7 separate regions of the Homo sapiens genome follow, and regions 1, 2, 3, 4, 5 and 7 are each linked to region 6. Evidence: promoter capture Hi-C in 16 types of primary human blood cells and fetal thymus (Javierre and others, 2016). All regions are on one chromosome and are shown on one strand. The core of a region is centred on a gene start or on the middle of the fragment in contact, and the rest is flanking DNA. Distances in the headings are between cores, read along the strand shown.

Region 1 (3,180 bases), core at 141-2,640, 530 kb before region 6:
GTCAATTCCCTTTTATTGCTGAGTAGTACTCCATGGTATGGATTTACTAAAATTTGTTTATTCACTTTTATTGGGTATTTGGATTGTTTCCATTTTTTGACAATTGTAAATAAAGCTGCTAAGAGGATTTGTGTACAGGGTTTTGTGCAGACATATGTTTTCCATTCTCTCTACGAGTGAAAAAGCTGTATCATATGATTGGTATTAAGTTTAACTTTATGACACTGCCAAAGTACTTTCCAAAGTGGTTGTACCATTTTAGAATCCCACCAACAATGAAACAGAGTTCCAGTTGCTTTACATCCTTGCCAAACTTGGTATTAACATTCCTTTTTATTTCAATTACTAGTGGCTCTCTAAAGGCACACTTTTGCAGTTTTAATTCTCATTTCCTGAATGATGAATTTTATGTGTTTGTGAGCCGTTTTTGTATCCTCATTTGTAAAGTGACTTTTCAAAAAATTTTTTGCCCACTTAAAAATATTGGTTTGTTTCAGTAAGTTTTATTGAGTTTGATTTTTTTCACAGATGGAGTCTCGCTGTGTTGCCCAGGCTGCAACCTCAAGTGATCCTTCTTGGCCTCCTAAAGTGTTGGGATTACAGGCATGAGCCACTGTGCCTGGCCTCTTACTAAGTTTTAATAGCCTCTTTACATATTCTAGATACAAGTTCTTTGTCAGATATGTGATTTGCAAATATTTTCTCCCAATTTGTAGCTTGTCTTTTTATTCTCTTAACAGTATCTCTCACAGAGCAAAAGTTTTACCTTTTAATAAAGTCCAATTTACCAATTTTTCTTTTTTATGGATCAAGCTTTTGGTGGTATATCCAAAAGTTCTTTGCCTAACCCAAGGTCACAAAGATTTTCCCTTACATCTTCTTCTAAAAGTTTTATAGTTTTAGGTTTTGCATTTAGATCTAATATCTATTTTGAATTCACTTTTATATAAGGTATAATATTTAGGTCAATGTTCTTTTTTTAAAACTGTGGATGTTCAACTGTTTCAGCATTATTTGTTGAAAAGATGATGTTTTCTCTGCTGAATTGTTCTTGCATCTTTGTCTTTTTTTTTTTTTTTCAGACAGAGTCTCACTCTGTCACCCAGGCTCTGGAGTGCAGTGGCACCATCTTGGCTCACTGCAGCCTCTGCCTCCCGGGTTCAAGCAATCCTCTTGCCTCAGCCTCCCTATTAGCTGGGATTACAGGTGCCCACCACTATGCCCTGCTAATTTTTGATCTTTAGTAGAGATGGGGTTTCTCCATGTTGGCCAAGCTGGTCTTGAACTCCTGACCTAGGGTGATCTGCCCTCCTCAGCCTCCCAAAGTGCTGGGATTACAGGCATGAGCCACCACACCTGGCCTTTTGTCTCTTTTTTGTACATCTCTTTCTGAACTCTCTTTTCCATCTCATTGATTTATGTGCCTATCTCTTCACTAGTAACACTCAGTATTGATTACTTAACTTTCTATAAATCTTAAAATCATTCAATGTGATTCCTCTAATTTTATTTTTTCCACAAATAATGTCTTGGCTTTTCTAATTCCTTTGCCTTTTCTTTCTTTTTTTCTTTTTCTCTTCTTTCTTTTTTTTCCCCTCTGAACTTTTAATCAGCCTCCTGCTCCCCAAAGAGTACCCTGCTTCTGCTGGCTTAATGTCTGACATCACTTTATGATCCACTATCCGGCAGATGGTGGTCTTTTGAATGGTTTGCATGGAATTGCTGGTGTCCAGGGCATCACCAAGATTGAAGTCCTTGCCATCTTCCAGCAGGTGGCAGTAGGTGGCGATCTTAGCCTCCAGCTTGACCTTGATGTTCAGCAGGGCCTTGTACTCCTGGGCCTGGCACTGTCCCTCTGCCCGGATCTGTGCCAGCTCCGACTCCAGGTGGAGCAGGATCCCGTTGATCTGCTCCATCTGTAGGGCATAGCGGGCCTCCACTTTCCTCAGGCTGCTCTCCAAGCTTGCCTTCAGATTTCTCATTGAGTCCAGGTCAATCTCCAAGGACTGGACTGTATGTCTCAGTTCCGTGAGCGCCATCTCAGCAGCTCCAACCTCGGCGGACTGTGTGGTGACCATTGTGGTGCTCTCCTCAGTCTGCTGAGACCCGTACTTGTCCAGCTCCTCTTGGTTCTCCCGAGCCAGCTAGTCATATTGGGCCTGGATGTCTGCCATGATTTTGGTGAGGTCCTGAGATTTGGGGTATCTACCTCCATGGACAACCCAGAGCTGGCAATCTGGGATTGTAGGCCTTTTACTTCCTCTTCGTGGTTCTTCTTCATGAAGAGCAACTCCTCCTTGAGAGCCTTGACCTCTGCCTCTAGCTGCAGCTGAGTGACATTGGTGTCATCAATGATCTTGTGGAGCCCATGGATGTCGCTCTCCACAGACTGGTGCATGGTCAGCTCTGTCTCATCCTTGACTCTAAAGTCATCTGCTGATGCAAGACAGGCATTGTCGATCTTCAGAACGATGCGGGCATTGTCCACACCTTTGCCTTTTCATATTAATTTTAGAATAAGCTTGTCTATATCTGCAAGAAACCCCTTGGAATTTTGGTAAATATTTATTATTTATCAAATGATGAATATAAATGATAAATATTGCATTAAATCTATAGCCAGTTAGGGATAATTGACATTTTAACCATGTTAAGTCTTCTAATTCATGAATATGGTATGTCTCTCCATTATTTAGGTTTATCTGATTTCTTTTATCAGCATTTCATAGTATTCAGCATATGAACCCTGACATGGTTGGGAATGTGGCTTTGAAAAACACAACTCTACGAGACATTCGGTTGGCTTTTTCAGTTAGAAAACTCATGTTTTCCATTGGCTTTCAGAATTTTATCATATTACTTCTTTGATAATTTTCTCCCTTCTTTCTGGAATTTCTAATAATTGGATGCTAGATGTTGAACTTCCTAATTTTTTCTTCATTATTGCTTTTCCTTTATTTCTTATCTATTTTTCCCCATTGTGAGGGATTTCCTCATCTTTATCTTCCAGTCCTTTGTAGTAGGCAGAATTCTACGATTGCCCCCAAGATTCCTGACTCATGTACATGTCCTGTATAACCCTCTCCTCTTGCGTGTGGGTGAGACCTGTGAATAGGATGGCATGTTACTTTCATGATCAGGTTATATGGCAAAAGTAAAGGAATTTTGCAGGCATCGTTA
Region 2 (3,445 bases), core at 386-2,885, 890 kb before region 6:
TTTGAGTTAATACTGAAGTGAGTTAAGACTGGGGGACTATTCAGAAAGGATGATTGTATTTTGCAATGTGAGAAGGACATGAGATTTGGGAGGAGCCAGGAGTGGAATGACATGGTTTGGATTTGTGTCCTGTCCAAATCTCATGTCTAATTGGAGGAGAGGACTGGTTGGAGGTGACTGGATCATGGGGGTGGATTTCCCCCATGCTGTTCTTGTGATAGTGAGTTATCCTGAGATCTGATGGTTTAAAAGTGTGTGGCACTTCCCCCTTTGCTCTCTCACTCTCTCTCCTGCCCACCATGGTAAGATGTGCTTACTTCCCCTTCACCTTCTGCCATGATTGTAAGTTTCGTGAGGACTCTCAGTCATGCCTCCTGTTAAGCCTATAGAACTGTGAGTCAATTAAACCTTTTTGCTTCATAAATTACCCAGTCTCAGGTAGTTCTTTACAGCAGTGTGAAAATGGACTAATATAGAAGTAAATCACAAAAGGGATAAACACAGGATCCATGAAATAGTCAGTCCAATTCAGGACTATAGTGAAGAAAAATCTCTGGATGGAAACTGTTGTCTAGGGAGTGGTTTGCAGCCAGTTGTGATTTTGCCTCCCCACTGGCCTGCCAGAAACAACTGGTAATGTCTGGAGACATTTTTGGTTGTCACAAGTTGAAGTGTGTGTGCGCGCACAAATGCGTGCTACTGTATTTAATGGGTATATGAGGCCAAGGATACTGAATTCTACAATGCACTACACAGCCTTCCACAACAAATAATTCTCTGGTCCAAAACATCAGTAGGGCTGAGATTGAGAAATCCTGGTCTAGAGAGTAACAAATCCAAACTGGAATAGGAGGACAGACAGACCATGGAGAGGAAAGTAGAATTGTCGGGTGCAGTGGCTGACGCCTGTAATCCCAGCACTTTGGGAGGCCAAGGCGGGTGGATCAGGAGGTCAGGAGTTTGAGACCAGCCTGGCCAATATGGTGAAACCCCGTCTCTACTAAAAAAAATACAAAAATGAGCTGCGTGTGGTGGCACACACCTGTAGTCCCAGCTACTCGGGAGGCTGAGGCAGGAGAATCGCTTGAACCCAGGAGACAGAGTTTGCAGTGAGCCAAGATTGTGCCACTGAACTCCAGCCTGGGCGACAGAGTGAGACTTCAAAAAAGAAAAAAGTAGGAGAATATCCATGGAAAGCTTAATTTTTTACAGAGTTTGAAGGAAATTAAGGGGTGCAATAAAGGCAAATATAAGAAAGAGAGAATGGTAAATAAAAATTCCAGCAGAAAAGATATAGATGTTGGACTCTCCCTGGCTTTGCAAGGAACTTTATTTATTTATTTATTTACTTATTTTTGAAATAGGGTCTCACTCTGCCACCCAGGCTGGAGTGCAGTGGAACAATCTCAGTTCACTGCGACCTCCGCCTCCTGGGCTCAGGAGGGATCACTATCCTACCATCTCAGCCTCCTGAGTAGCTGGGACCACGGGCACATGCCACCATGCCCAGCAATTTTTGTATTTTTGGCAAAGACAGGGTTTCACCATGTTGCCCTGGCCAGTCTTGAACTCCTGACCTCAAGTGATCTGCCTACCTCAGTCTCCCAAAATTCTGGGATTACAAGCATAAGCCACTGCGCCTGACCAGGGAACAATATTTATATAGTCACAGTAATAAAATACTCTTTACTAATTGTAAACTTTTGGAATTAACTGAAAGACAGAGCACGGACAACTTTATCAAGTTTGACAATGTAAAAACAGAAATATAGATGAAAAAAGCTAGAAAGTAGAAGGGGGAGGAAGAAAGATGAAGAAAAGGCAAAAGGACATTAACATCTTCATCTTACAAAGTGGGAAGTACTATATGGTGGAGCAAAACAAAAATGGGGTTATATTTGTATATATTAAAGTTATAGGAGAACCTGTAGTAAACTGTATAACTCATCACTAATATTCAGGATCTCTTCCTACAGATCCTTCTCCACTCCCTCAGAATCAGTTTTGACAACATGTTTTGAGAATGGAAATGTGAGCAAAAGTGACGGATATCATTTCTGGGTGGAAGCTTGAGGAGCCAGGACATGATTTGTCACTCTGTTTTTCCCTCTGTCATCATCATTCCAGATAGTGGGTATACTATTAGCCTAGGCCCCAGAAGGAGGACAATCATGGCATGGAGCAGACCCCGGCACCATGTAATCAGCAATGGGAATGTAGTGGGAGGAACAGAACTTAGTAATTTTAAGCACTAAAATTTTTCGATTTTTTATTACTGCAGTATAACCTAAGTTATGCTATGTAACAGTAAAGAAAGTAAGTACAGATGCTCATTGACTTATGATGGGGTTACATCCTAATAAGCTTATTGTATATATTAAGTTGAAAATGCATTTAATACATCTAACCTCTCAAATATAGCATAGCACAACCTATCTTAAACATTTTACATTAGCCTACACTTGGGCAAAATCATCTAACCCAAAGCCTATTTTATAATAAAGTGTTAAGTATCTCATGCAATTTGTTGAATACTATACTGAAAGTCAAAAACGAAATAGTTGTATGGGTACCTGAAGCATGGTTTCTACTGAATGCACATCACTTTTATACCATTGTAAAGTCCAAACATTGTAAGCCAAGCCATTGTAACTCAGGAACCCTCTGTAAAGTGTTGTGAACTATATTGAGAGGATGGAGAGTAGAGAAGTGCAAATGGGGGTGTAAGTGAGCTAAATCCTCATCTCTGAAAGTAGGAAGTCAGTACGTAGCGTTTAAAAAGAAAGTAAGTAGTCATGTTATTTGGAGATATGGAGGAAACTACCAAGAAACAAACAAACCAAAAACTAATAAAAATAATTAAGCGTTATCGTCCAGGGAATAGGCGTAGGATAGGAAGAGGTGGGGCAGGAGGATTTTTGTTTTTATTACAAATTCTTCCAGACTTTTCTATGGTTTCAAATAATAGTGCTTGTGTTTCTCTTGATAACTTTTTAAAATTTCCACTTATTTGACTGTATTTTATGCAAGCTCTAAAAAAAATTATAATTTTGGGCTGCAGGAACATGGCCATAGAATCCAACAGAAATCTTCTTAAAAGGGAAGTTGTGCTTTGGTTGACTCTGATCTTACATACCTAATTTGTTCCCGAAGAACACTTCACTTTGGACCACCTAACAGTCAAACTGGTAATCTGAAAAGCATCTTCAAAATTCAGACAAAAACAAATGGATTTTTTTTGTTTCTGCTATTTAACAAATTTTCAGAGAAAAAAATACATCAACAAGTAAGGTAATTTAAACTTGGAATTGGCTATTTGCAGACTTGAGGTTGGTCTATAACACACTTTTCAAGGGGTTAGAGTTAAAACTTTTTCTCTATGGATTGTTCTAGATCTGAGTCTGTCTTCCAAAGCCTCCTCTACCAGAATGAAAATCTTCACGAA
Region 3 (3,475 bases), core at 195-2,694, 920 kb before region 6:
TAGGAAGGTGAGTGATCCTGAAAACGGGTAGGGGACCGTGGAAGAGAGAAAGTAAAGAGTACAACGACTGCAGGATTTCAATTTCCTGCTCTAAGAAGAAACACCTCTGAAAAATAATGTGCAACACACGAAGTGCTAAGTAACCTAAACCTTATCATCACCAGTAATGTTTCTGTAAATCTACTCCGCCGTTATTTACTTAATTCTTACAAGGCAGGAATGGAAAATCCCCACTCTCCCTGGTTGCGTCGCAGTCTGTCCTGTGGACATATGTAAGTTTTCCCTCTCCCCCACAGAGCTGATTTCACAGCTAGGCCAGAAATAAGGAACCATCCAGACGGAGACTCGAGGATCGCTCCCTGGCAGAAAAGGGATTAAGTTTCACCGGGCCTCCCCGCCGGCAGGGCGTCCGCAGCCACGCCGGCTGCTGCGACAGCACCGCCCGGCAGACGGCCGGCCAAGGGGCGACGCCTGGGCCGAGGAGGCTGCCGGCTGCGGGAGCGTGGGAAGGCGGCCGTGCCCTTTCCCAGACTCGCGCCCAGGCGCCGGGGGATTCGCTCGACTGCCCGCGCCGGGCCCGGCCAGGCTGCGCAGAGGCCTCGGCCGCCCCCGCCCCGCACCCCGGAGTGCAAACTCCGTCCCAGGAGGGCAGTGGCAGGAACCCGGGCCCCAACAGCATGACTGAGAGCCGGAGCTGAGCTGGGGCCCCCGTCGCCGTTTCGAGCCTCGCGGGCCCCATCACCCTGCCTCGCCGAGCCGGAGAGCCCTCGGCCAACGCCGGGCCCCGGCGGCACCTGAAAAGCGGCCGGAGCCGGAGACTAGCCCTGCGAGGGCTACGACGCTCGACCTCCAGGGCCGCGGCGAGGGGGCGCGTTTTACCCATAGCGTTCCCAGGTGCCAGCCATCTCCTCCGCTCGCTCGAGGGCGCTGGGCTCTCGTCTGCCTCCGCAGCGGGTTGGCTCGGGCTCCGGCGCGAGCTCCCGGGCCCCGGTCGCCGCCGCCGCCGCTACCACTGTAGGCCGCCGCCCGCCTTCGCCGCCGCTGCCGCTACCGTCGCCGACGCCGCGCAGCAGCCGGGATCCGCCAGCCCGCGCGCCCCGCAGGGGACAGCACGGCGGCCGCGATGCTACCGCAGCTGGGCCTCCCGAGCTAAACTTAAGAGTTTTCGCCCCTCAGTCCAGGGGCAGCACCATGACACCACGGCAGCACCACACTGTCATTTCCGCCGCCGCAGAGGAAAAAAAAGGCAATCCCTTCCAAAAGGGAGGCGGAGTGGGGGCAAACGGGGCTGGGGCTGACACCCCAAGGGAGCACTGGGAAGGGCCCAAGAAGAAGGGGTGCTCGGCCACCTTCCCAGGCTCACCTTCCGCCGCCCCCGCCACTCCCAGCTCCCCCAGCCCTTCCTCTGGAGGCACGTTTACATGTCTTCTCCCCTGGCAGGAGTGACCGGAGAAACCTGAGCAAGCAAAGGCAGCCGGTGGGTGGGGCTCGGGTTACTACTGTACCTACCAGCTGATTCCAGCAGCCTTTTCTCCAGCGCCCTGTCATCTTGAAGGAAGACACACCGAGAGGGACCCGGACGGGTGTGCGTGTGTGTGTGTATGGTGTGTATGTGCGTGTGTGTGTGTGTGACAGAGCGACAGAGATAGCTAAATGTGTGTGAAATGCAGAAGGAAGGCTATGGCTAAACTCTTCTCCCACTCCCCAATCCCCCTGTCCCCCAACCCCACAAACCCCCAGGTTAGAACAAGAAAGAGGCCTTTGCAACGGGTAATAAGAAGAGAGAGCCGGGTCCACCGCAGAGATCCTCCCTATGAAGCTGCTCTATGCAAAGTTAACTACAGAGTAAAACAAAAATAGTGGAGGAGATAGAAAAGGGCAGACAATTGAAGGAAACCGAACCTCTCTTTCTTTTTACAAAAAAAGAATGGCTGTGTTTTATTGGCCTCGGGCAGAAGTTGTGGAGGTGGATTAAAACCATCAAAAGAAAAAAAAAAGTAGGATTTTTCTTGTACCTTCAAATTGTTGACCAGTAAAACAAGAGGGTCGTTACCACATGGACAATGAGGCAGATGCTAGCTATCCAGCTATTCCAGGTCCCTAATAAGCTAATTGGTCCATTTGGAATCCAGCATCCTCCCATTGGTCTGGAATCAGCCTGTTTGCTGACCTGTCATTGGCTCAGAGACCACCACCCGACTCAAAAGGTGGATGGGAGAGGGAAAGAGCAGGAAGCCCCATAAGAGACTCTGTTTCTAACTTGGGGCAAAAAGGGAGAAGAAGGGGAAAGAAATGAGAAAATGGGAAGACTCACCCCAGCACACACACACACACGCCTCCCATCATTGTGCATAGGAACAAGTCCAGAAAAATTGAGGTATCTCTTGGTATATCCCTTCAGGGAACCAATAGTAATCAGTCAACACTCCTGTTAAACAATGTGCTAGAGAGCACTGAGGTGGAAACCAAGACAAAAGTCACAACCAGGCTCTCCTGATGAAAGTCTGGCCCCTAAGAGAAGTAAAAGTTAGTGAGTCACACTTAAAGCACAGGCAACAAAAGCAAAAATAGGTAAATGGGACCATAAAACTTTCAAACATCTGCACAGGAAAGGACACAATCAACAGAGTGAAAAAGCAACCTACAAAATGATAGAAAATATTTGCAAACCATATATCGGATAATGTGCTAATATCCAGAATGTATAAAGAACTTCTATAGCTCAATTAAAAAAAAAACTCTTAAAAGTGGACAAAAGACTTGAATAGACATTTCTCCAACGAAGATATACAAGTGGCCAACAGGCATATGCAAAGATGATCCACATCACTAATTGTTAGGGAAATGCAAATCAAACCCCAATGAAATATCACTTCACATCCATTAGGATGGTCACACACACACACACACACACACACACACACACACAAAACAAACACACAGGAAAATACGGCAAGGTGTGGTTCACACTTGTAATCCCAGCTACTCAGGAGGGGATGCTGAGGCAAGAGAGTCACTTGAGACCAGCAGTTAGAGATCAGCCTGGGTAACATGAATAGAACGTGTCTCTACAAAAAATAAAATTAGAACAGAAAATAATAAGTGTTAAGGTTGTGGAGAGATTGGAACCCTTGCACACTATTGTAAAAAGGTACAGCCACTATGCAAGGGAATGTAAACTGGTGTAGCTGCTATGGAAAATAGTATGGAGGTTCCTCAAAAAATTAAAAATAGAACTACTATATGATTAAACAATCTTACTTCTAGATATATATCCAAGCAAATAGAAAACAGGATCTCAAAAAGATACTGGCAAACCCACGCTTACAGCAGCATCATTCAAGAGGCAGAAGCAAATTTAATGTCCATCAAGAGATGAATAGATAAAGAAAATATGGTATATATACACAAGGGCATATTATTCAGTTTCAAAAAAAGAAGGAAATCCTGTCACATGTTACAAAGTTGATGAACC
Region 4 (3,130 bases), core at 180-2,679, 730 kb before region 6:
AATATCTGGGAGGTCAGAAATGATAATGTGACATTTATGTCAGGTGGCAGAATTAAGAGGCATATCTTCTCCCTTCCGTGTTCTAAATTTTCCACATTTTCTGCAATATTATCACCACCCCTTCTTGTCAACATTTACTGTTGTACTTATTATGTTTTGGACAAGATCCTAAGAACTTTACTTCTATCTCATTTAATCCTCATAACAACAGTATGGGTAGGTACTACTTTACAGATTAGATTATTGGGGCAAAGAAAGGTTAAGGATTCAGATCCAAGTTCTCTGATTTCAGCACTTTTAACACCCACCCCCTCCGTGTGTGTGTGTGTGTGTGTGTGTGTGTGTGTGTGTTTCCTAAATAACCAGACAGCCAAGGATGATCCTTATGTTAGAAGAAAAGCTACTCTGCTCAAGAGAGCATCAACCAAGAGTCACCTGGGGGAGCAGTTATAGGGAGCAGTTACCATTTCTTCAGTATAGGAAAAACAAAGATAGGGGGAACTCCATAAAAAAAAATGTGATTATGTTCAATGAAGATTTCAGAATATCTAGGAAACAAGAAGCTAATGATTAAGCCAGAAACAAGAAAATCTAACCAGTCAGCAATTATCCATGTTGGACTTAATAGAAATCAATCAGTAGAAAACTAAGTTGTCCTCCCCCTCTCCTCTCCCAATATAGCCTCAGGTTCTGGGGTGCTGCATTATGCAGAGGGCAGAAGGATTAACACAAGGAGAAAATAAAGCTTTCATGCCTTCACATTTTTCCTAGACGCATAGGAAAAGGATTAAATATCCACAGGGGCCAAAGAAAACCTCTAAATGAAAAACATTCTTGTCCCCTAACTATATTGCCAATCACAAAGTCTAGTCCTGTTTTGTATTCTTTATTAAGGCCCATGAGCCATAATGGTTTGGAAAAATCTAAAGACAGCAGTTTGTAAGCCTCTTTTAACTAAGGTATTGCCTGGTTACAGATGGCAATGTTTACACTATCATTTGCATCACAATCAGTAGCACAATAATTCGGGAAGAAGCTGTCCATTATCGGTGACATTACTTTATCAGCTGGGTCTAAAAGAGATAAGGCGAGTTAAACTTGGAAATCAGTCCAAAGAAAGCAAAAAAGTAAGCAAAAACATTTAGGAAAAAATATTCGAAATATTCTTATCTGATTATTAGGTGAAAACTTTCCCCTTAACAAATCTGTAAGATTGTGGGCAGGGCTCTGATTTAATCGATAGGGTAACAATAAAATACAAATTACACCTATCAGAAACTAAAGATCCCACACTTAGGTGGAAGGGGCACTGAAATAATCAGGTAACCAAGTCATCTCTAAAACAGTCCCATGGTGCCGGTAGAGGGTGTAAGTCGGAGTCGAGGAAGCAAGTTTTACTGGCAAGGCAATGGAAAAAACGCAAGTTGCAATGCACTGTCCAATCCTAGTCTTCCACTACATTGCCTGTCCTCAATTATCTTTAACATTCAGGTATAAAATTGTTTCCTAAATTCCCTACACAGAGCTTAAAGAAGGAGCCAAGTCCAGGATGGACTCGGTTACTGAAAAATACGCTTTTGCATTATCTGTACCACTAGCTGCACTGGGGAAGGTCAAACATTCCAGAATTGAGATTTCCAAGATTTTTTGGATGGCTCAAGCTGAGATGCTGGCTATCAAGGATGCAGAGTCAACGCATCACTTTAACAAATCAACTAGATTTATGGCTCCAATTACTCAGGTAGATGATTCATAAGATGAGAAAAGCCAACGCTTGCTGATCTAAGGGAAGTCGTAATAATTTTGGCGCCTGCAGTATATAATGTCAGTTTCCCTCAACACCAAGCCGAACGGACCAACACCATTTCGAATCAAAAAGCTGCTTATTGGACTCTAGGAAAAGAAAGACCAGGAGAGCTCAGTACGCAGGTAGGCTCTCTAAATGCAAGCTAGTCTAAGAGCTGAAGCAACCCAGTCCAGCCTGGGTGGCTCAACAGCAAAGCCAAGCCACGTGTCCCTACCGCCCTGGCTAAGCGTCGGTCCCCTCTCGTCGCTCTATGCAGCCACTATCTATTGGGTCCCCCAGCCCTTGCCCTCAAACGCAGAAGCTTCGCCTCACACTCCATCTTTTGACTCCACCCCACCGCACGGTAAGAATGAACGTGACCCTCCCGCGAGAGGTAAAATAACGGAAACAGCCCGTGGGGTAGGCTAGTCACAGAGCTGCACCCTCTCCCCCCAACCCCCAGTCTGTTTGAGCTCAAGCGGCGACCCCATCCCTCCTATACTCTGCCGCCTGGGCAGGTGAGGTCTAGTCAGGGTCCCAACTTGGTCCTTACCAGGTCTCCTGGTTGCTGAATTTCTTAGTCACCACCTTGCCTAGCTCCAGGCCCAGGCGGTCAGCAATTTTCTGAGATAAGTCCTGGTGGGAGCTGCCGCTGAAGATTTTGATATTCGGCATCCTGGCCAACTACCCTAAGCACTCCACTAAGCGATCACGGCTGCTGCAGAGACCGGAACCGAAGTCGGCCACAGACTCAATACCAAGCGCTTTGCGTTGCTACTCCGCCATCTTACATTCCCGCCCGGCGCGCGGCTCTAAATTACCCAAAGCGGCGGAGGTGGGGTCAGCGGCGAAGTCCACACCCCGCTGGCAACGATTAGCTAAGAGGGAGCGAAGGGCGGGGTTTGGTCCTCGGTGTAGCTCTGCCTCCTTCCGATTCTCTCAGGTATTGGGTGAAGAGCATGAACGGGGGCGAGACTAACCCATAGCCCGGCCCCCTGTAGCTAGGCTGTTGGGGACAGGAGACGTTGGACTGGGGGTGGAGGGATGCTGGTGACGTCTGAGGCCAGATCGTTCCCGCTAGCGGGAAATCAACCATGCCTGCTTTTTTATTTCCCCTCCCTCAGCGCAGGAAAGTAAGTCTGGCTCTGGTTTACAGTTTCCTTTAAGAAAATCTGTTTATCAGGATGACAGCCACGAGTTTGCATGTTTCTGAACACATTTTTTATCTCTTTATAAGGATGGGGCTGAATTAAAACACTTTTACATCACAGACGTGCATGCAAGGAGTTTGCTTGCCCATTGTAATTGCAGTGTCGCCTTTGCCTGCAAGACAGTTTACATGGG
Region 5 (3,118 bases), core at 190-2,689, 950 kb before region 6:
AATTGAAAGAAATGTGTTTCAGGAAAGGATTTGTCACTGTCAAATATGCGGAGAATGCAAGAAATATGAGGATTGATAAAAGGCAGCTGGATTTGGTAATTAGAGGTCACAGATGACCTTTTGAAAAGGTGTTTCAGTAGGGTTTTGGAAGAATTTGTGAAATCCTGAGGTTAGAGTATGGTGTAGTGACAAAGTAGAGGCTGCAAGTCTAGACTCCTCTTCAAAAATTTGGCCATAAGGTGAATATAATAACTCTGTAGTGTGATGAAAGGGTCTAGCTTGAGTTAGGCAGTGGGAATTGGTAGTGAATCCAGTTGATAATTTTCTCTAGCAGTGGCCCAAATTCCTATCAATGGAAATTCCATGTATCACAAATGAATATATTGATATATTAGGCGAATATATTGATATATTAGGCAAATATAATGTAGATTGATGAACGCCAAGCAAATACAATATTAGAAATTTGTGTTTCCAACTGTAATGCATTTCCATTCAAACATGGGATTCCATGAGAATAATGTTTTTAACAAGTACCTCAACCTGTTGCAACACTGATCACAAAACTGATATCTCATAAATAATTCACAGTACAGAGCAGGACATAGCAAAATCTCTGCTATGTGTTCCTCTTTTGTGGCCCAGAACTGAGACTCATGGCTTCTATAAAGCCACTGAAAACAAAAATTAGGGCTGAACACATAATTTGAGGTCTAGTTAGACTATGCGCCTTGAGTTACCATCACAAAATTATGGCAAATGGTTAGTTTGCCCCTAGCAATTTGCAGAATGCCAGCACATGTTAACAACACAGAGCTAGATCTGACAAGATGACTCTAATTTCAACCTTACTTCATTAATATGAAAATGCTTTGAAAAATAAATCTTTGGCTAATGAAAACACCATCTGTTGATGGCTTTTTGCCACTGTTTTCTTACAATATGAGACATAATTTGAGGAAAACACCGAACATTTACTTACTCATTTCCTATTCATTTACAAGGAATTAAAGCCTCCTCTCAAATTGGAATTTATTCTCAATAATGAACATATGCAAAGGGAAACAGAGAATTGAAGCGATTATGCAATCTAAGGAAGTCACTCTTCCTTATCATGCCTAGCACTGACGAGTCATTTAGAACAAAAAATTCTGGGCCACTCTAGGTTTGAATAATTTGATTGATTTGGCCAAGTAATTATCTTGTCTGTACTCTGGCTGAGTAAACAAAGAGGGTGTGTGTGTGTGTGTGTGTGTGTGTGTCTGTGTGTGTGTGGATGTGTGTGTCTAAAATCTCTATATAAAAGTAAACATGTCTCTTCGTTGTTGTTCAGTTTTGAAATATTGGTGTGTTTTGCTCTGCTCCTGTGCAATGTAGTTAATGACTGGGCCAGGTTCCTTATGTTCAAGCCCGGTTAGTGCAACTTTCTCAGGACAGTTAAACCGTGACAGCAAGAGAGCCAAAGTGGCAGGGGAGATTGGAATGGAGATATCTGCTGGTAGGAAACAGGACAGGAGGTTGGCAGCCAGGGGGCAGGATGAAGCTCCCATTTCCTGCTGCAAGAGGTTACCTCTGGGTCTTTGTGTGCTTCCCTTTTATGGATGTTACAGAAGCCATTTTAGTTTATGAAACTGTGATACCTTCTTCACCTCCAGATGACTACATTATGCTAGCTCACACAAAATTGTACATGTGTCTAAACAGCACAAAGTAAGGGAAAGATTTGGCTGATTTGCATAACAGATTTTAAAAGGCCTCAGTTAGCTAAATTGGCAGTCTACACTGATTCCATTTTTACCCAAGTTTTATTGTGTTGTATAGATTAGGCCTCTTTGTGCTCTCTTATTCCCTTCCCAAAGAGGAAAATGTTTTGCCATCTGAGAAAGCTGGGCACAGGCTATTCTTCTTCCAGACAGCATCCCATTAACAGAAATGGCTTCTTCAACCCTCAAATAATTGCTGGTTTTTTTTTTTCACTTCTCTAGACACAGATTATTTCAGGTAACTTTCTCATTGACTCTCTCAAGAAAACTAGGCGTACATCAAGACACCACCTCTTTATTAAAGCGAGGTAGATTACCCCATTATGGCACAAACTGGACCATGATCTCCATTTGTCATACTCCATGAAGGCATATGTATTCGCACATATATGAGCACTCCTACACACATCAACCTGACACAGTAAGTACTGAAGCCTAAAAGGGGGTGTAATCTGTATTAGTTCTATTGAAACATATCATTTCCACTGAAACATGGCACTGTCATAGAATGTCTGTATTCTCTCTTGCTGTCTAAAAGGTACAAGGGGAATATTATCTAAACCTAGACAAGATCCTGACTGCTTTTATGTGGGAATTGAACCTTGGGGTGAGCATAGGAAGGGGAGAAGTGAAATAGGGCAGAAAGGCCAATTCATCCCAAACCTGAGTCTTCCTGATTGACAGAAGACAACTTCATCTTTAAAAATAATCTGAGCCAGTGGCCCCATTACTATTCTTTGACATGCTCTTTTTTGACATCCTGTCTATGCACCGACATTTTCAGCTCTTCCAAAAGCCAGAAGCCAGAATCTTCACATGCTTTTAGGGTCACAGTCTGCTTTCTTTTTTTAACTGCTTGTCTTAAAATACTTACTTTGCTTTTGCTTCAGTCTGTCACTTTATGTATCAATTACATATGGCCTCTCAACAACAGAACATGCCATCTGGTTCACAAACTGAAGCCCACACCCTTATGCCAGAATTTATTCTTTCCCCAAACATTTATTTGCTGTTGTATAGACACAGGCTACGTCCCAGAATGAGATGAAGGTGATACACTGGATGTATATCATATAGGTCTACTCTACTTCAGGTTTGTTAAAGAATAACCTGACCCTCAAGCCAGGTGAAAGACTTGCCATCTTTTCAAAAGGCTCTGTGATCATCCAGCTGAGACCCACACCTCCCCCACTCTCCTTATCAGAAATGCTGCCCAAACCTTCCCATATTCTTTTCTTTCCCCCATCTTCAGGTGCATAGCATGATTACATCTCTAGCTCAAATGGATACATTATTATTTGGACATTCTAAAAGTAAACCTGTACTAAAAACTTAAATCTAGTGTTTATTTTGAT
Region 6 (3,163 bases), core at 289-2,788:
TACATCTTTTTTCTTACCAAAATGGGATCATCCTTTAAGTAATATTTTAGAGACTTATTTTGTTTTCACTCTTTCAATATGTTAACTTTTCCCTCATTCTTCTACCATGCCAATTTTAATATGAAATTGTGTAACTGCCCAATGATTTATCTAACCAGCTTTTAAAAGTTGTTTTCAATTTTCCTTTGCTGAAAAGAACATAGTGGGACTAGAATTGGAAGTGGGGTGAAGATGGGGGGTAGGTGAACAGAGAAATGAGGAGCCCTTAAATTAGTCATGCTATCTTACCATCTGATTTTTTTTTCCATTTTCTGTGTTGAAAAATTATACTTCCCAGAACATGATTGTGAGCACCTGCTTGGCATTCAGTTGCAAGGATTTGCCCTAATTAATGTAACTGGTTTCCTATTATTGGACATTGAAGTTGTTTCTAATTTTTGACCATTACAAACCAGACTGTGATGAACATCCAAGAAGCTAAATCTGTGCTGGGGCTGGACACTGAGGTCAGGAGGAATATTTTCGAGACCTCTGAAGCATAAGGTCCCTGCCAGTAGTTGTAACTAGAAGCTTTCTGGCAAAGGCCCAGAAGGCTGGCTAAGGCCGAGGACTGTGCTCAGGCCTCTGGGCTTGCCCGGGTTCAGTACCCATTTATGTAGCCCCTGTCAGAGAGTGTTCAGGCTGGCATGGTCCTATGAGACCACTGGGCCAGCACCCTCATCTCTTACATGAGGGAACTGAGGCCTGGGGCTGGGGCTGGTCCTTCGGCAGCTCTGTAGTCGGGCAGAACTTTGCCTCTCCCCAGCACCCTGGCTTCTGAACTGGAAGCTAAGCTCTGAGGTTTGGAATCTCACCCAGAGGCCCTGTGAAATCCTGCCTGCTCTCCTTCACTGGACCACTTACTGCTGAGGCTGGAGGGGGCACTTTGACAAATGAACTGATCAGTAAGGGGCTGAGGGGCATTGAAAGAAGACTTAAGGTTTACCCAACAAGCATCTGGGCCTGCTCTGCCCAGAATGCCCCTTTTTTCCCTAACCCAGATGATATGCTTAATGGCAGTCACCCTACATTCAGGTCCACCTGGCAAATCTATCTGAGGTTGAGCTGAAATAACAAGTGAGTCCCTCACTCTCCTTAAAGGGGTCAGCTGTCTCTTCTTGCCAGGAACTGGCTTAGTTAAAGGCCTGTCTATTCAGCCCTCTGTCCCTGACATCTCTGTGGTTTCAGAGTGCTAATGAGCTCCTCTCCTTCCCCTCTCAGGCCTTGCTACTCCCTGGGGAATTCACACAAATGGTGTGCGATTTGCCCCTTCTGTGTTTTTCTTTCTGACTTGGAGGCAAAGCAAATCCCTCACCTCCCACTGACACCATGTTTATTCAACTGGGAGAGATTTCACACCCAGGTAACCCAGCTTTCCCTCCCTGAGCCCCTTCCCTAAATCTTTATCCCCCTCCCAAGTCATCCCACCCCTGTCCTCCCTGAATAATTTATAAGACCAGGCAGGGCTTATAAAAGGGTCTCCCAGGAAAAGCCAAAAGAGTGCAGAAGGTTCTGGGAAGTAGGAGACCCCACTGGCTTTGGTCCCCTAAGAATGGACTCTGCTGCCTGTGCTGCTGCTGCCACCCCTGTTCCAGCCCTGGCTTTGGCCCTAGCTCCAGACCTAGCACAAGCCCCACTGGCACTCCCTGGCCTGTTAAGCCCATCTTGCCTTCTCTCCTCTGGACAAGAAGTAAATGGGAGTGAAAGGTAAGTTGAGCTTAGCCTTTGGCAACCTGAACTTAGGCTTGAGAGCTTCCTGAGAGAGGAAGGAAAATGAGATGTCCAGGGCACCCTGTTCTCTGTGAAGGGGAAAAGCAATGGCCTCATAGCCCTCCCTCCTCAACTCTAGCTGGAATATCTCATCTGACTTTTCACCTCACTAATCCCGCTGGGTGGCAAGAGGGGACTTGGGGACAGCTGTTGCCAAAGCTGAAGGTGAAGCAGCCAGGTCCTCATAGGCCAGGTGGCTGAGTCCCCTGAGGGGGATGGGGAACTGCCATGAAACCTGGGCTTAACACAATCTAGACTGTGGGGGTGGGGAGTTTGGGGAAAGAGGACCAAAGTCTAAAGAGGCCCTTGACTGGGACATTGTCTTTTTCCTGACCACGCCATAAGATTTCCATTTGCTTTTTTCCTACCTCTGCAAGTCCAGTGGGGAAGCAGTGGACCCAGGAACATTTCTGGCCCTCTTCTTCAGCCCAGGAAGATGGTAGAGCTCTGAGTTCTACATCTTGGAGCAGGAAGTAGGAGGCAAGATATTTTCCATCTAGCCCCCACTCATTACTCCAAACATTTAGTCTTCAACAAACATTTACTGAAACAGCTACTGTGTACCAGACATTGTACTAGGTGTTGAGGATTCAGATACGATTGAGCATATCTTTGAGCTTAAGAAGCCCAAAGACAAGTAAATAGACAATTACAAAACAGCATGATAAAAGCAATAATAACATTGCTGAAGCCGAGAGGAGGGACATCTGTCCTGGAATGGGCTCAGGAGCCTTAGGAAAGGCTTCCTGGAGCAGATGGCACCTGAGCCAAGCTTTTGGGAGGTCTCTTGTTATCTCAGGGAGCCCACCTTTCAGTCTCTTCCTCTACGGATTGATCTCTCCTCTTTGTCCCAGAGGAACTTGTCTCTGGAGGCCCTGGCTGTCTTCCACAAATGACTCCCCAAGGCAGATGAGGAAGCTGGTGGATTTGGTGAGTTCGAGCCCTTGTGACGTGTGTTCACATGCAGCCACATGCATTAACAGTGACCAGGTCACTTCCCAGAGAGCCCCTGACCTCAGTCCAAAGGTGCAGATCTGAGATAGCATCCTCACAGTTTTGCCAACATTTGATTCCAACAGAGAGCAGATCCAAGCTTTCTGTGGCAATTGGAAAGATGAGGAGACCAAAGCTCAGAGTGGGCAAGGGATCTGGGCAGGCCCCACAGCCAGTGTGTGGCAGTGCTGGTGCTTGAGGCCTCGTCTCCTGGCACCTTACTCCAGTGCTCTCCCACCCACCCGATCTCCCTGAATCTTTGCTGCTCCAGTAGAACACTGTCCCCTGGAGAGCCTCCAAACAGGTGCTGGAACAGAGGCAGGGAAGCAAACAACCCGCAGGACTCTGTCTGCTTGTTTTT
Region 7 (3,336 bases), core at 139-2,638, 970 kb before region 6:
GTACCTGAAGGAACTAAACAGTTCACAGTCCTGGACCTAAAGGATGCCTTCTTCTGCATACCATTACACTCTGACTCCCAGTATTTGTTTGCATTTGAGGATCCCTCTAACCAAACTACCCAGTTAACCTGGACAGTGTTACCTCAGGGATTCTGAGACAGCCCTCACTTGTTTGGGCAGGCATTGTCAAGAGACTTCTCTGAGTTCCTTTATCCTCAGGTTAAAGTTTTACAATATATAGATGACATTCTCCTCTGTGCTCGAACTGAGGAAACCTCTCGGAGGGTAGTAAGGCTCTTCTCAATTTTCTGGCTAATAGAGGATATAAGGTTTCAAAATCTAAAGCTCAGCTCTGTCAGACTTCAGTGAAGTACCTTGGTCTGATCTTGTCAGAGGGGACCAGAGCACTGGGCAAAGAAAGGATTAAGTCCATCTCCTCCTTTCCCCTCCCCAAAACCCTCAAGCAACTGAGGGGATTCTTAGGTATTACAGGATTCTTCAGACTATGGATACTTGGGTATGGTGAAATAGTTTGTCCCTTATATCACCTAATAAAGGATACTCAGGCAGCTAAAACTCACTCTCTAATTTGGGAACCTGGGACTAGAAAAGCCTCTGACCAACTAAAGCAAACCTTGCTTAAGGCACCAGCCCTTAGTCTCCCCATAGGGAAGATGTTTAATCTTTATGTGTCAGAAGCAAAGCAAATGGCCCTGGGAGTGCTAACACAAGCCCTGGTCCAGCCCAGCAGCCTGTAGGCTACCTAAGTAAGGAGCTTGATTTGGTAGCCAAAAGATGGACAGCCTGCCTCCAGGCAGATGCAGCAGTAGCCTTGCTGGTACCAAAGGCTACTAAGTTAACCATGGGGAATAACTTAACTGTTTGCACTCCACATAATGTGTCAGGACTGCTGTCTTCTAAGGGGAATCTCTGGCTAACAGACAACTGCCTCCTCGTGTATCAAGTTCTGCTATTAGAGGGATCTGAAGTCCAATTAAGAACCTGTCCCTCCCTAAATCCAGCCACCTTCCTCCCAGAGGAAGCTGGGAAGCTTGAACATGACTGTGAACAGCTAGTAGTACAGACCTATGTGACCAGAGAGGATCTCAAGGAAACCCTCTTAGAGAACCCAAACTGGATTCTCTTTACAGACAGAAGTTCTTTTGTAGAACAAGGGATACATAAGGCAAGGTATGCAATAGTTACTCTGAATGATATTGTTGAGAGTGTGTCTCTCTACTCAGGGACAAGTGCTTAATTAGCCAAACTAATTGCCCTCACAAGGGCACTCAAATTAAGCAAAGGAAAAACAGTTAACATTTGCACTGATTCTAAGTATGCTTTCCTAGTCCTCTGTGCCCATGCCACTATCTGGAAAGCGAGAAACTTCCTCACAGGTAATGGGAGTCCCATTAAATACCATCAGGAAATTAATAGACTATTATCCTCGGTTTTTCTCACATGTGAAGTGGCAGTAATACATTGTAAAGGCCACCAAAAAGGTATGGATGAAGTAGCCAAGCAAAATAGATTGGCAGACCAAGCAGCTAAATCAGCAGCAACAAAGCCTCAGATTTCTGATCCACTTGAAGCCTCACTGATCTGAGAGGGCCCCTTAAGAGAAATATAATCTAAATATTCTCCTGTGGAAATAGAATGGGCAATCTCTCAGGGATACATCTTTCAGTCCCCAGGATGGCTACAATTGGAGGACAGCAAGCTTCATCTACAGGCTGCTGACCAATGGAAAGTTCTTAAAATCCTTCACCAAGCTTTCCACCTACGTAAGGATAAAACCCATCAGTTGGCCCAGAAATTGCTCTCAGGTAAAAACCTGATACAGTTAAACAGATCGTTAATGCTTGCTAGACCTGCCTTTAAAATAATCCCCTTAATCGACAGCTTCTTCCCCCAGGAATCCAAAGGACAGGAGGCTATCCAGGGGAAGACTAGCAGTGGATTTCACCCATATGCCAAAGGCAAGAGGCATCCAGTATCTCCTAGTGTGGATAGATACCTTCACTAACTAAGTAGAAGCAATTCCTTGTCAGACGGAGAAAGTCTCTGAGGTGATAAAAGTACTAATTAATGAGATAATTCCTTGCTTTGGACTCCCTAAGTACCTCCAGAGTGATAATGGCCCCTGTTCAAGGCAGCCGTCACCCAGGGGGTCTCAAAGGCACTAGGCATACAGTACCATCTTCATTGTGCTTGGAGACCACAATCCTCAGGAAAGGTAGAAAAGATGAATATTATCAAAATGCACCTCAGGAAGCTGTCTTAGGAGACTCGTCGCCCCTGAACTACCCTTCTCCCCATAGCCCTACTACATGTTAGAAACACCCCTCCAAAGCTGGGTTTGAGTTCCTTTGAAATGATGTATGGATGGCCTTTTCTCACGAATGATTTCTTGCTAGACCAAAAATCCTCTGATTTGATTAAACATATAACTTCTTTGGCCCATTTCCAACAGGAACTGAAACAACTGTTGGAGGTCCAATCCCAGGAACTAGGGCCACCTCTATTCAACCCAGTGGACCTAATACTGGTAAAGGTACTTGCTTCCCTTTCTCCCTCTATAAGCCCAGATTGGGAGGGATTATACTTCTTTCTACTCTTATGGCACTGAAAGTCACTGGAATAGATCATTGTATTCACTATACCCGAGTAAAGGCCTGGGAAGCTGACAGAGTTACCTGCATCAACCCAGAAGAGCACCCAAAGTACCTATGTGAAGAGATTGGGGAACTCAAGCTAAAAATCACAAAAGATAAGTGTTAATAATTAACCTTCCATGGATATCCTCTTTATAGTCTTGCCTAGGCTTGTTGTTTTTACCTCCATTCTGTGCTATACCATGGGGTATAATGTTGATTTCAGAATGATTAGTATATTTCACTTCTTATTTCTGTAATCTTCAGCATTAGATTCTCTCCTTTTAACTCCTCTTTGGACATATATTTGGTCCATGCATACTTAACCCTGTAAAACTTGTTTCTTTGCACCTAGAGGCCATCAAACTCCAAACAGTCAGGCAACCAGAACCTCAGACAATGGCTCCCTTTTGCTGGGGACCCTTAGGTAGACCTTGGGGAGGAATCTGACTGCTGTTCTTCCCATACTCACACCCCCTGTAAACAGGAAGTAGCTAAGACCAGTCATCGTCCATATTACACCAGCAGTTAGATGAGCCTCTTCAGAGGAGGGAAATGACAGGGGCAGGAGGCAGGGAAATTCTGGGCAGAAGAGGATAGGTCTCTGGCAAAGGTCTTGCCCTCAAGCCTGGAACCGTGTCCCAAAGTGAGAACACGCATTCCTATTTTCCCGCTTGAAAGC

The links. Contacts are between HindIII fragments. The CHiCAGO score rates a contact against its expected background, and 5 or more counts as called.
Region 1: a contact is called between a fragment that was not itself captured here and the fragment with the promoter of RIPPLY1 in region 6, in 1 of 17 cell types (total CD8 T cells). The highest score is 5.0, in total CD8 T cells.
Region 2: a contact is called between a fragment that was not itself captured here and the fragment with the promoter of RIPPLY1 in region 6, in 3 of 17 cell types (naive B cells, naive CD4 T cells and total CD4 T cells). The highest score is 6.7, in naive B cells.
Region 3: the fragment with the promoter of MID2 here is called in contact with the fragment with the promoter of RIPPLY1 in region 6 in 5 of 17 cell types (total CD4 T cells, erythroblasts, monocytes and 2 more); the score reaches 6.3 in total CD4 T cells.
Region 4: a fragment that was not itself captured here is called in contact with the fragment with the promoter of RIPPLY1 in region 6 in 1 of 17 cell types (naive CD4 T cells); the score reaches 5.1 in naive CD4 T cells.
Region 5: a contact is called between a fragment that was not itself captured here and the fragment with the promoter of RIPPLY1 in region 6, in 2 of 17 cell types (neutrophils and total B cells). The highest score is 6.6, in neutrophils.
Region 7: a contact is called between a fragment that was not itself captured here and the fragment with the promoter of RIPPLY1 in region 6, in 3 of 17 cell types (non-activated CD4 T cells, total CD4 T cells and fetal thymus). The highest score is 7.6, in non-activated CD4 T cells.

Annotation. Positions count from the first base shown.
Region 1 is chrX:107,427,936-107,431,115 of GRCh38, reverse strand. It overlaps the pseudogene KRT18P49. Among named protein-coding and RNA genes, the nearest start is that of FRMPD3, 20 kb to the left of the region's middle. The HindIII fragment of the contact is 1,149 bases long and covers 816-1,964 here.
Region 2 is chrX:107,794,627-107,798,071 of GRCh38, reverse strand. NCBP2L (nuclear cap binding protein subunit 2 like) reads right to left here. Exons shown (of 2, transcript NM_001348372.2): 2 at 2,243-3,445. The coding sequence ends at 3,390. Among named protein-coding and RNA genes, the nearest start is that of NCBP2L, 19 kb to the right of the region's middle. The HindIII fragment of the contact is 871 bases long and covers 1,200-2,070 here.
Region 3 is chrX:107,823,835-107,827,309 of GRCh38, reverse strand. It overlaps MID2 (midline 2), which reads right to left and starts at 1,444. Exons shown (of 10, transcript NM_012216.4): 1 at 880-1,444. The coding sequence starts at 883. RefSeq lists silencers at 627-676, 837-1,026. The HindIII fragment of the contact is 8,930 bases long and covers 1-3,475 here.
Region 4 is chrX:107,627,960-107,631,089 of GRCh38, reverse strand. PRPS1 (phosphoribosyl pyrophosphate synthetase 1) reads right to left here and starts at 2,580. Exons shown (of 7, transcript NM_002764.4): 1 at 2,340-2,580. The coding sequence starts at 2,461. RefSeq lists a silencer at 2,693-2,742. The HindIII fragment of the contact is 1,363 bases long and covers 748-2,110 here.
Region 5 is chrX:107,848,334-107,851,451 of GRCh38, reverse strand. All of the region lies in intron 2 of MID2 (midline 2), which reads right to left. Among named protein-coding and RNA genes, the nearest start is that of MID2, 24 kb to the right of the region's middle. The HindIII fragment of the contact is 7,784 bases long and covers 1-3,118 here.
Region 6 is chrX:106,901,716-106,904,878 of GRCh38, reverse strand. It overlaps RIPPLY1 (ripply transcriptional repressor 1), which reads left to right and starts at 1,538. Exons shown (of 4, transcript NM_138382.3): 1 at 1,538-1,746; 2 at 2,664-2,739. The coding sequence starts at 1,592. It also overlaps a transcript of CLDN2 not described here. The HindIII fragment of the contact is 2,011 bases long and covers 573-2,583 here.
Region 7 is chrX:107,871,913-107,875,248 of GRCh38, reverse strand. All of the region lies in intron 3 of MID2 (midline 2), which reads right to left. Among named protein-coding and RNA genes, the nearest start is that of MID2, 48 kb to the right of the region's middle. The HindIII fragment of the contact is 669 bases long and covers 1,054-1,722 here.